Linked DNA regions of Homo sapiens: regions 1 and 3 are each linked to region 2. Evidence: promoter capture Hi-C in human tissues and cell types (Jung and others, 2019). All regions are on one chromosome and are shown on one strand. The core of a region is centred on a gene start or on the middle of the fragment in contact, and the rest is flanking DNA. Distances in the headings are between cores, read along the strand shown. Region 1 has its middle 22 kb from the start of ME1. Region 2 holds the start of PRSS35 (serine protease 35). Region 3 has its middle 33 kb from the start of PRSS35.

The links. Contacts are between HindIII fragments. The study calls those that stand out against the background at their distance.
Region 1: a fragment that was not itself captured here is called in contact with the fragment with the promoter of PRSS35 in region 2 in 4 of the 25 tissues and cell types used here (mesendoderm cells, small bowel, stomach and 1 more).
Region 3: a contact is called between a fragment that was not itself captured here and the fragment with the promoter of PRSS35 in region 2, in 2 of the 25 tissues and cell types used here (bladder and thymus).

The regions. Positions count from the first base shown.
Region 1 is chr6:83,451,544-83,454,800 of GRCh38, reverse strand. No RefSeq gene overlaps it. Among named protein-coding and RNA genes, the nearest start is that of ME1, 22 kb to the right of the region's middle. The HindIII fragment of the contact is 6,664 bases long and covers 1-3,257 here.
Region 2 is chr6:83,510,513-83,513,810 of GRCh38, reverse strand. PRSS35 (serine protease 35) reads right to left here and starts at 1,277. Exons shown (of 2, transcript NM_153362.3): 1 at 1,117-1,277. The HindIII fragment of the contact is 4,019 bases long and covers 351-3,298 here.
Region 3 is chr6:83,477,952-83,481,301 of GRCh38, reverse strand. No RefSeq gene overlaps it. Among named protein-coding and RNA genes, the nearest start is that of PRSS35, 33 kb to the left of the region's middle. The HindIII fragment of the contact is 3,233 bases long and covers 233-3,350 here.

The sequences.
Region 1 (3,257 bases), core at 694-3,193, 60 kb after region 2:
ATGTCTCAGAAACAAAACAAAGCAAAACAACCCAACCCCCCACCATGTTTTTGAATATATTCAAGGTATAATGTAATAAATAGCTTGAATACAACACAGTTTCATTTTCAAGAGATTTGTATCAGCTAATCCTATAAACACTAATACTGACATAGGTAGACTAATTCCTTTGAAGAATGACTCTTGGGACATTGCCAGTATCTGCATCTATTTTTTATTCTTTGATTCCTATAAGAGTTCATTATGTGGCCAAGTGAAGTGGCTCACGCCTGTAATCCCAGCACTTTGGGGCGCCGAGATGGGAGATCACGAGGTCAGGAGATTGAGACCATCCTGGCTAACACGGTGAAACCTCGTCTCTACTAAAAATACAAAAAATTAGTCAGGCATGGTGGCGGGCGCCTGTAGTCCCAGCTACTTGGGAGGCTGAGGCAGGAGAATTGCTTGAACCTGGAAGGTGGAGCTTGCAGTGAGCTGAGATTGCACCACTGCACTCCAGCCTGGGCGACAGAGTGAGACTCTGTCTCAAAAAAAAAAAAAGACTTCATTATGTGAGCTTTGCTTAGACACCCAGAACAATTATGAAATTATTGTACAATTTGCTTACTTCATTGAAAACTTTCCATTTTATCGTTTCAAAGTTTTGGTTTTCATTTTTTATTTGTGGACTGTAGGAGCTATTGTATTTGAAATGCAAGTATATTTCTGAGCCCACTTTCAGTCCACCATCCAGCTAGGATTAAGGGATAACATTTTGGCAATTGTGTAAGTTCACATTCTTGGGTTCCAAGCAACAATTTCAAAAAAGGTTTCTTTTCTTCTTTGTTATTTCCAACATAAAGAAATCCTGTCATAGAATTTCTATCATGAATGGACAGCTTCTATCACAGAATCACAGAATCTTAGAATTGGATCTAGTCCACCATCCCACTCAATTCAAGAATCCATTAGTTAGCATAGTTTAGTATCCCAATGAATGATCATCTAGTCTTTGCCTAAAGTCCACCAGTGATGGGAAAATTCATCATCATAAACCCCTATTCTATTTATGGTATAGTAGAAAGCCCAGTGGTTTTGGAAACAGACAAGATGGATTACAATTTTCAGTTCCAACGACATGAGCTAGGGCAAAGTTACTTACTGTCTCTGAGCCGTGTCTTCCATGCCTATGTCTAGCATATAAGTGCTCAAAAAGTGGCTGATGACAAACTGTATGAAGATAAAACTAGTTAACATAAAACATCCTCAGTGGTTGAAAGCTCTTGCCCCTTCCCCACAGAAAGAAAATTCTTTCTCTATTAAGCCAAAATCTGCTTTCCCATAAATTAGTTCATTCAATAAATATTTATAGTAGTACTGTTCAAGGTACTGTATATAACTGTGAACAAGACAGAGGGGAACTTACTTTCAGGAAAATTATGTTCTAGTGAGAAGAAACAGACCAACAGACAATAAATTAATGAATTAAGTTTACAGAAAAAAAATTAAGTGAATAGATAATGATACCTATTATACAGAAGGCTAAAACAGTTATATACTAATTACTGGGTGGCTACTTCAAGGCAAGACACTGCTGAGGCAGTGTCACTTAAGCTGAAATCTGAATGACAATTCTTCTACCCCTTGTTTCTAGATATGGTTTCTGAACAGGTCAGAAAAATTCTTTCCAATTGTTGAAGGCAGCTATCATATTTCTCTTTAGTTCTTTCGCTTCATCTTTCTTATATAACATGATTTCAACACAAATTTTCAGCTGGGAAGGCTCATGTTTTATTAACGCCGTCTTTAAATGTGTCCTAAAATTGAAAACAATACTCCAGGTGTAGCTTGAACCATGTGGAAATGGTAAGAACACCTCTTCCCTTCCCTCTGGATTCTGTACTTCACTGATGATACCTAAGCTTACACTATCTTTTTTGGCAGCCCAATTCTAAATCAAAGCCCAATTCTGGCTAAGTTTTCATCAACTAGAAATACCCAGTCTTTTCCACAGGAACTCCTATTTTGATGCATTGCCTTCTTCCTATGCAGGGACAGTTGTTTCTATACCAGGACTTTACATTTACATTTTTTTTTTTTTTTGAGACGGAGTCTTGCTTTGTTGCCCAGGGTGGAGTGAGGTGGCATGATCTCTGTGTTCACTGGAACCTCCACTTCCTGGGTTCAAACAATTCTCCTGCCTCAGCCAGCCAAGTGGCTGGGATTAAAGGCACATGCCACCACACCCAGCTGATTTTTTTATTTTTTAGTAGAGACGGGTTTCACCATGTTGCCCAGGCTAGTCTCAAACTCCTGACCTCAGGTGATCTGCCCCTTGGCCTCCCAAAGTGCTGGGATTACAGGCATGAGCCACTGTGCCTGGCCTACATTTACTCTTGCTACAGTTTATCTTGTGTTTCAACTAATTCTTCCAGCCTATGGAGGGTTTTGAATCCTAATTCTTTCCTCTACCATACTAGCTATTCCTTTCATCTCCATGTCATTCACAAATTTAGCTAATATGTTGCTAGGTCTATGAAATGGACATTCTGACAAATATAAAAATATTTCAGAGCCTTGGTAAATTATTCAAGAAATACAATTTGCTAATGAAAAAGAAAAGCCACACTACTATGGATGATTCCCCACCACCACCATCCCGTGTTTCCTAAATCATCTGTATTAAGCATTAATTAATTTTATAATTAGGAAGAAAATTATAAGAAATACATATCACAATATATCATCTATATTTTCATCTAAAAAGTTGGTAAATGTTAAAGAGTAAAGACAATGAAACAGCTGTGTGTCATTCTACTAGAGACTTCCCCATAGGCTGATGCAGGGCTGTTAATTTAAATCCAACTCAACCTGGGCAATAATAATATATTAATAAGTGTATTAACATTATGGTAGCAAAATAATGGTCCAGAAGGATGCAGGCCTTTGATTCAATATCCTCATATTTGTTATAATCTCATCAAAATGAGATTTTCTGGTGAAATTTCTTCTATTTCTTAGTTTAAAAGTAATTTTCTCAAGAATCCCTAGAAATAGTGATTATTTGAGTCAGTCAAACCTTTAAAAAAGCAAAATTTTCTGCCATAGTGTATGCTTAAAAAACTAAACAAAAGTGTTTAGAATTTAAACTTTGAATCTTGGCATACAACTAATACTCAGAGGACAAAGAATGCATTTCTGAGTGTGGGAAAGCATTTGCCTTTGAGAGAAATTTAGAACAAAAAATAACATTTTGCTGGGTGTGGGCAGAGAATTAG
Region 2 (3,298 bases), core at 28-2,527:
CCAAGTATATGCTAAACAGTCTCACATTTTAAAACGTGAAAAAGCTTCTTAAAAGCATGCAGTTTTCCCAGCTATCTGGAAGAAAAATGGGGTACAGTATCCACATCTACCACTTCCCTCACTAAAGGAACTCCTCTAATATTTCCTAATAAAAATAAAATTCCATATGATACTTGGCCTCTACCTTCAAGCCTACATGTCTTATTTGGCAGGGATTTTAACATTCTCTCTTCTAAATTATAAACCAGATTCTAAGTATAATTCTCCAGCCAGCAAAATATGACTTTTATAATCCTCTGTGGAGACAAATGTACTTCGGATAAAATAAGAATGAATTTCAGAAGTCAGAAGGGTTAATAAGGGGTGAAAGCCCCCTAGACACAGCAAGCAGCTTCTTTTCAAATCAAGGACAGTGTAAAAATGTCAGAGCAATCAAGCGGGAGTGTTTCTACAACTTTTTAAAAAACCTTTTATTATAGAAAATTTCAAGACTACACAAAAGCACAGAGAAAAGTATTAAGTTGAGAGAAAAGTACAACCCCCATGTGCACATCACCAGCTTCAACTATTGTCAATATTTTGCCAATGTTTCATCCACCATCACCACCCCACACACTTTTTTTTTTCAGCTAGAGTATTTCAAAGCAAGTCAAAAGCTTTTCTACTTCATTTCGCCGCCTCATTTTCTAAACGTTTTCCTATGCTCCTTTTGCTGACCTCCGCAGCCAAGTTGATAAAAGGGTAGAGGGGAGAGGCTAGCTTTCATAGTAACCCCGCCAAAGAGACTTTTCAGGAATGCGTTTCATACCTTTCTCAATGGCATCTGTTAACAATCATAAAAATAAAGAGGGTCCCCTCTGGTACTGCTTAAGCAGAAAGAATTCCATTTATATTCCAATGCAAACATTGTTGTCGTTAATATTAAACTGTGCAGAGGCCGGCACACAGAATTGCCTATGGGAAGGGTGGTTAGTTTCTTTGAGGACTGAAAGAAAGTGTCAAGTTTGATCCCTTTCTTCAAAGTCCTTCAAAGAAGCTCTCCTCGGGTAGGTCCTGCCTTTCTCAGGGAAATTTCTAAGTTCTAAGGTTGTTGGGTTTGGGGAGCTTCATCTTTACCTGCCAGGCTTGTTTGGTCCCCGAGGGCACTGTCAGCTGAGATCAGAGCTCCCGAGGAGGCGGGCGGGGACGCTGCAGCTGGGAGCCTCTCAGCCAGCCTGAGCCGGAGGCCGCCCCGCCAAGGCCGGGCCACAGCACCCAGAGCTCGCCACTGAGACTGCGGAGGGGGAGAGAGCTGCGCCGCACCACGGCCGGGAGATGGGAGGGGAAAGGGGGCGATGACGAGGGGCGGGCGCGGTGGGATGGAGTGGGGGGAGGGGAGGAGGAGGAGGTGGGCAAGAGGAGACGGAGAGGGAGGGCGGAGAGGGGAGTTCCCTGGAGGAACGGGGCGGACCTGGCCGTGTCTCACCCCAGCATTTCTGCCCCCAAGCTGAATTAAGCATTAGGAAAAATTCATGAGTAGGTTCACAGGGGATGCCTGTCCCTGTAATAGTATGCACTCCTTTAACAGTCTCAGGAGTTGTTCAGTTAAGAGTCTCATTCCTCACTGCTTGCTGTTGAGACCCCAGGCATCTAGAAGAACGGAGGGCGTCTCCCCAACCTTATCCCAAGCTAGTCTCCACCGGGGACCTAGCTTCTCTGGATGCACAAGCCTCAGGGTTACCCCGACTTGTACCAGGCGCCCAGGCTGCACACGAGGATGGGGACCTCAGGCTGGGACGCCTGGACCCCCGGGAGCATCCTGCGCTGCCTCCAGGGGGAGCGCGTCAGTTTCCGTCTGCAGGGAAAAGGCTGGTTTTCCTCTTTGGGCGAGTAACCTTTAAGGTCCTTTCCCATCTCAGTCCCACCAGCATTCTAACCTCATCCGTTCTCTCGACCTTTTATTCTCCTTTAGGAGAGGGGTGGGGGCCACATGAGAAAGGAAGCTTCATTTGTTTAACAACAAATTCTAGTGGGTGACAGGTCTGGGGCAAGATGAACTGATACAACGAGAGAATACATAAACAAAAACAAAAACAAAAACAAAAAAACTCGGTCCTGGCCCTAAAGCAGGGAGATCGAGTAAGTGCACAAGTACTTACAACACAAGGTCTTAGCATGTCTTGTAACACTTGGTTCGTTAGTAGGTTATTGCGTATCTCAAGTTCTGTGTACTTTTAATGAGATTATAACATACTTAGCATTGTCCCTCGTTATACTCAACGGACTAGTTCCAGGCCCTCTTCCCCTCCGCCCCCCCATACTAAAATCATCCCATATTCAAGTCCAAGTCCAGCTGTGGGCCCTGGGGAACCCGCGTATAGGAAAAGTCTGCCCTCTGTTTAAGCATTTCTGCCTGAAAATACTGTTTTCTATCCGCTTTTGGGTGAAAAAAAAAATCTGTGTATAAGTGGACCTGTGCAGTTCAAATATGTGTCCAAGGGCCAACTATATATACAATTTCATTGCTGTTTTCTCATTTAGCATTGTTAACATAAGCATTTACCCATATATTAAAATCTATTGGTAATTTTTACCAGTTAGAATTAGTTCTGAAGCTCTCTGTCACCAATTAGATCATAATAGTCATATGCATCTTTGAATCACCACCATCTACCACAGGGCCTGGCATATAGTAGCTGCTGCATTAGACGTGGAACTAAAAAGTTTGCTAGTCAGATGGAGTGTGGAGAAGTCACAGAGAAAGTCCAGAACTCAGAATGGGAATTCCGCCTGACACTAAATAGCTGTGTGCCCTGGGCCTCCGCTTTTTCATCTGTAAATTGAGATGGTTGAGCTGGAGGAGTTCCAAGGCCTGCAGCTCTCAAACATTTTTGGGATTCTAACACTGTATAAATCCAGAAGGATTCACTGTGGACCCAGGTCTGCTTCCTTCACTTTATTCAGCATTCTCCACTAGCATCACAGAAAGCAAACTTCCAGGGCTCTTTCATTTTCATGCCCCCCTTCTTGAGCCTTTGACCCCAAGCCCTTTTGTACCCTATTTCTGGATCTATTCCAGGTTGTCTTATCATTAATTTGACTGTTTTCAAAATTTATCGCTTTACTTCATCTGGTCCTGATGCTTCGTATTTACTATTTCTCTAGTTCTAGGTTTCTGGCTTCTTATTTTTAAAAAATTTTAATTCATTAAATTTTTAGAGACAGGGTTTTTAAATTATCACTCTGTCACCCAGGCTGGAGTGCAGTGGCAGGATCATAGCTGACTGCAGCTTCAAATTCTGGGCTCAAGCAATCCTCC
Region 3 (3,350 bases), core at 600-3,099, 33 kb after region 2:
TCCCTTAGGGAGTTTCCAGTGTCTCTGGTTTCTATCTTTATGGCCGTGTGTACCCAATGTTTAGCTCCCACTTATAAGTGAAAACATGTAGTATTTGATTTTCTGTTTCTGTGTTAATTCACTTAGGATAATAGCCTCCAGCTGCATCCATGTTGCCTCGAAGGACATGGTTTTGTTCTTTTTTATGGCTGCTACTTCATTCATCTCTGAGTGCACTGAAGTGATTGGTTAAATGACAACATATCTGTCCTGTCAAGCTCTTTAACTTGTAAGCCAGAATTTAACTCAAGTCTTTAAAGAGAAAAATTGTATGCTCATAAAACTTCTTGTGAAACAGATATGAATGATGTCTAAATTTAATTCAGTATATATTTCCATAAAATCTTACAACAAAACTCATGGAAACTATAGGAAGATGTCATGTCAGCCATTTCTATCATAGAACAAATATATACTCTCTCAGTTTCATGTCACCTTTTTTAAAAAAATGATTTCTTGAGGAAATACCTTTCTCTCCCTCTGGTAAATTGATTGAACTCTGGAAAGCTGTAACAGAAGAGAGGTTTGGGTCAGGCTGCCTAGAGGAACTTACCTCCCTTGGCAATTGATGCGATCCTGGCTTGTGTCACACAGGTATGATGCAAGTCTGTGCATGTGTGAAGATTATGCTTAACCAAGGGTTTACTTAGTGCAATGATGAAACTGAACTTTGGGGAGTTTTGAGACATAATTCTGTGAAATATAATTGTAACTAAGGTCTCTTTGAGGTAGTTAAGGTCTTTCCCTAGCCATAATAATATTGACTTATTTTGCCTTGCTTTTGGCATTAAGATAAAGACAAAGAGAAACAGTCATTCAAAAGATTGATTCACAATTTTTAAGCACTTTTAGTGCTGGGTATTCTGCCCGGCGCCATAGGTAATCTGAAATAAAAAAAGTCTGAGTTACTGCTCAAGGAAGACCTTGTCAAGTAGGAGGAGCTATGTCATAAATACAGATAACCATAGTATAAGGTAGAAAGTGGCATGCACTATACATTTGAACAAAATGCTAAGGGAGTTCAAGTGGGAAAGACTATTTACAATGGGAGCTGAGAAAGATTTAAAAAAATTCTTTATAAAGGAGGGGACATTTAATTTGGGCCCTAAAGGCTAGGTAGAAACAATAGCTACTGATGAAGTGGAGAATATTAGAGGTAAACACTTAACAAAGGTGTAGCAATAGGTTTGGAGGAAAAATGAGCCATTCTGTTTTGTTGGTATACAAAGTAAAAGTAGGAAAGAAATAATAGATAATTCTGGAAAGATAAGATGAACCGTACCAAGGAGGGTTTTAAATGTCCAGCTGTCATTATTACTCATTAAACATTAACAATGATTTATTCCTTTTACCATGTATTACAAAATAAGGCTAGCTGCTGTATAGACATATAAAATAAGGAAACATGGTCTATATGTGTACTGGATATAAAATATAGTTCTCTCAAATATAAATGGTCTCTGCCTTATTCTACTTTATAAATATTCTGGTTTTTTAAAATGCTTATTTATATTTATGTTTAGTTATGTTTACATTTGTCTTTATATAAGATTTGTACTTACCTATCACTTACAATGGCATGGATAACTCAGATAACTGGTTCCAATAGCAAACTAGTTTTCCTCTGACCTGCTTGTAGCTATCTTTAGCAGTACCTAGACTATTACTTAATGAGCTTCAGTCTGCCAAGGTCATAGAGATTTTCATGACCTTTGTTCTCTTCCCTTAATTTTTAAGCATGCAGAACATCATGAGCCAGTTATACTAGCCAATCTTTAACATTAAACATATGTGGACGCCACTTAATAATTCCCCTGACATTGACCTTCTATTCTATACCCTCCCTAGTCCTAGTCTGTGGTAGGCACCATTTGGCCTTCCAAATTTCTGGGTCCTGGTGTACATACACTTTCTTCCACTTATTCAAACATCAATCTATGTGTTGCTATGAATAAATTTTGAACATGCAATTAAGGTCCCAAATCAGTTGACCCTAACATAGGAAAGCTTACACCTGGATGGGCACACAGTGGCTTACACCTGTAATCCCAGCACTTTCGGAGGCTGAGGTGGGAGGATCGCTTGAGCCCAGGAGTTTGAAACCAGCCTGGGCAACATAGGGAGATCTTGTCTCTACAGAAAAAATTAAAAATTAGCCAACATTGGTGGCACCTGTGGTCCCGGCTGCTCAGGAGGTTGAGATGGGAGAATCACTTGAGCCCAGGAGGTCGAGACTGCAGTGAGCTGTGTTTCTGCCACTGCACTCCAGCCTGGGTGACACAGTGAGACCCTATCTCAAAGAAAGAAAGAAAAGAAAGTATTCCTGACTCATATGAAACCCCTGTGTACTCTGCCCCAATCCTGTTGTTCCCCTCACTTTTTCACCAGAGGTAATCACTGTCTTGAATTTGATGTTTCTCATTCACATGTGCTTTTATACTTTCTCTAATGTGTATATATCTATAAATAAAGATAAAATATTGTGTTGCATGTTTATAAAACTTTTCATAAATGGCATCATGGTGTTTGCAACTTTCTGAAAGATGTTTCTTCCCCTATCTTTCATTGTTATGGTTTTGAGAATAGCATCGTTTTATTTGGGCATATGGTGTCCCTGGCTGAACACTAGCAGTCCCCACTCCAGAATTTATAGGGATGTTGGAAGGAATGACACATAGGCACCAATAGATATAAAATAAGGTTTATTACTCACAGAATAAAGGGTAAAAAGATTCCTCAAGGAGAAGAGGTCAGGTTCAGACAGCGTTACTCTGTCTTAAACCACATTGTTCTAATTACTATATCTTTTGGATGCAAGATTCCTGATATCTTAAAGAATGAGTCCCCTATTCTTCTTCAGAATTATTTTGGCAATTCCTGGCCTTTTGCTCATTTATATGGATAACTTTAGGATAAACTCAGTAACTTTTATCAAAAAAGCCTGTTGGATTTTGGATGAACTAATGTCTTTGTTATTGAGACTTCCCATTCATGGGCATTTGTTTCTTTAATGTCTCTCAAAATTTTTATTTTTCTTTATAAAAGTCTTAAAGATTTATTTCTGGATACCTTATATGCATTATTGCTATAATACATATCTTCAAAAATTATATTTTGAACCATTTGTTGCTGGTTTTTAGGAATACATTTGATTTGCAGGACCATTATCTATTGATTCATTGAATATTTTATTATAGAAAAGCATATAAATAGAAAAGAATGACATTTTATGACTTTCCTTTTAATCCTTGTATTTCCTTATTTTCCTTGTGACTTATATCAGAAGGGCTTTTAATAAAAAGTAATTGGAT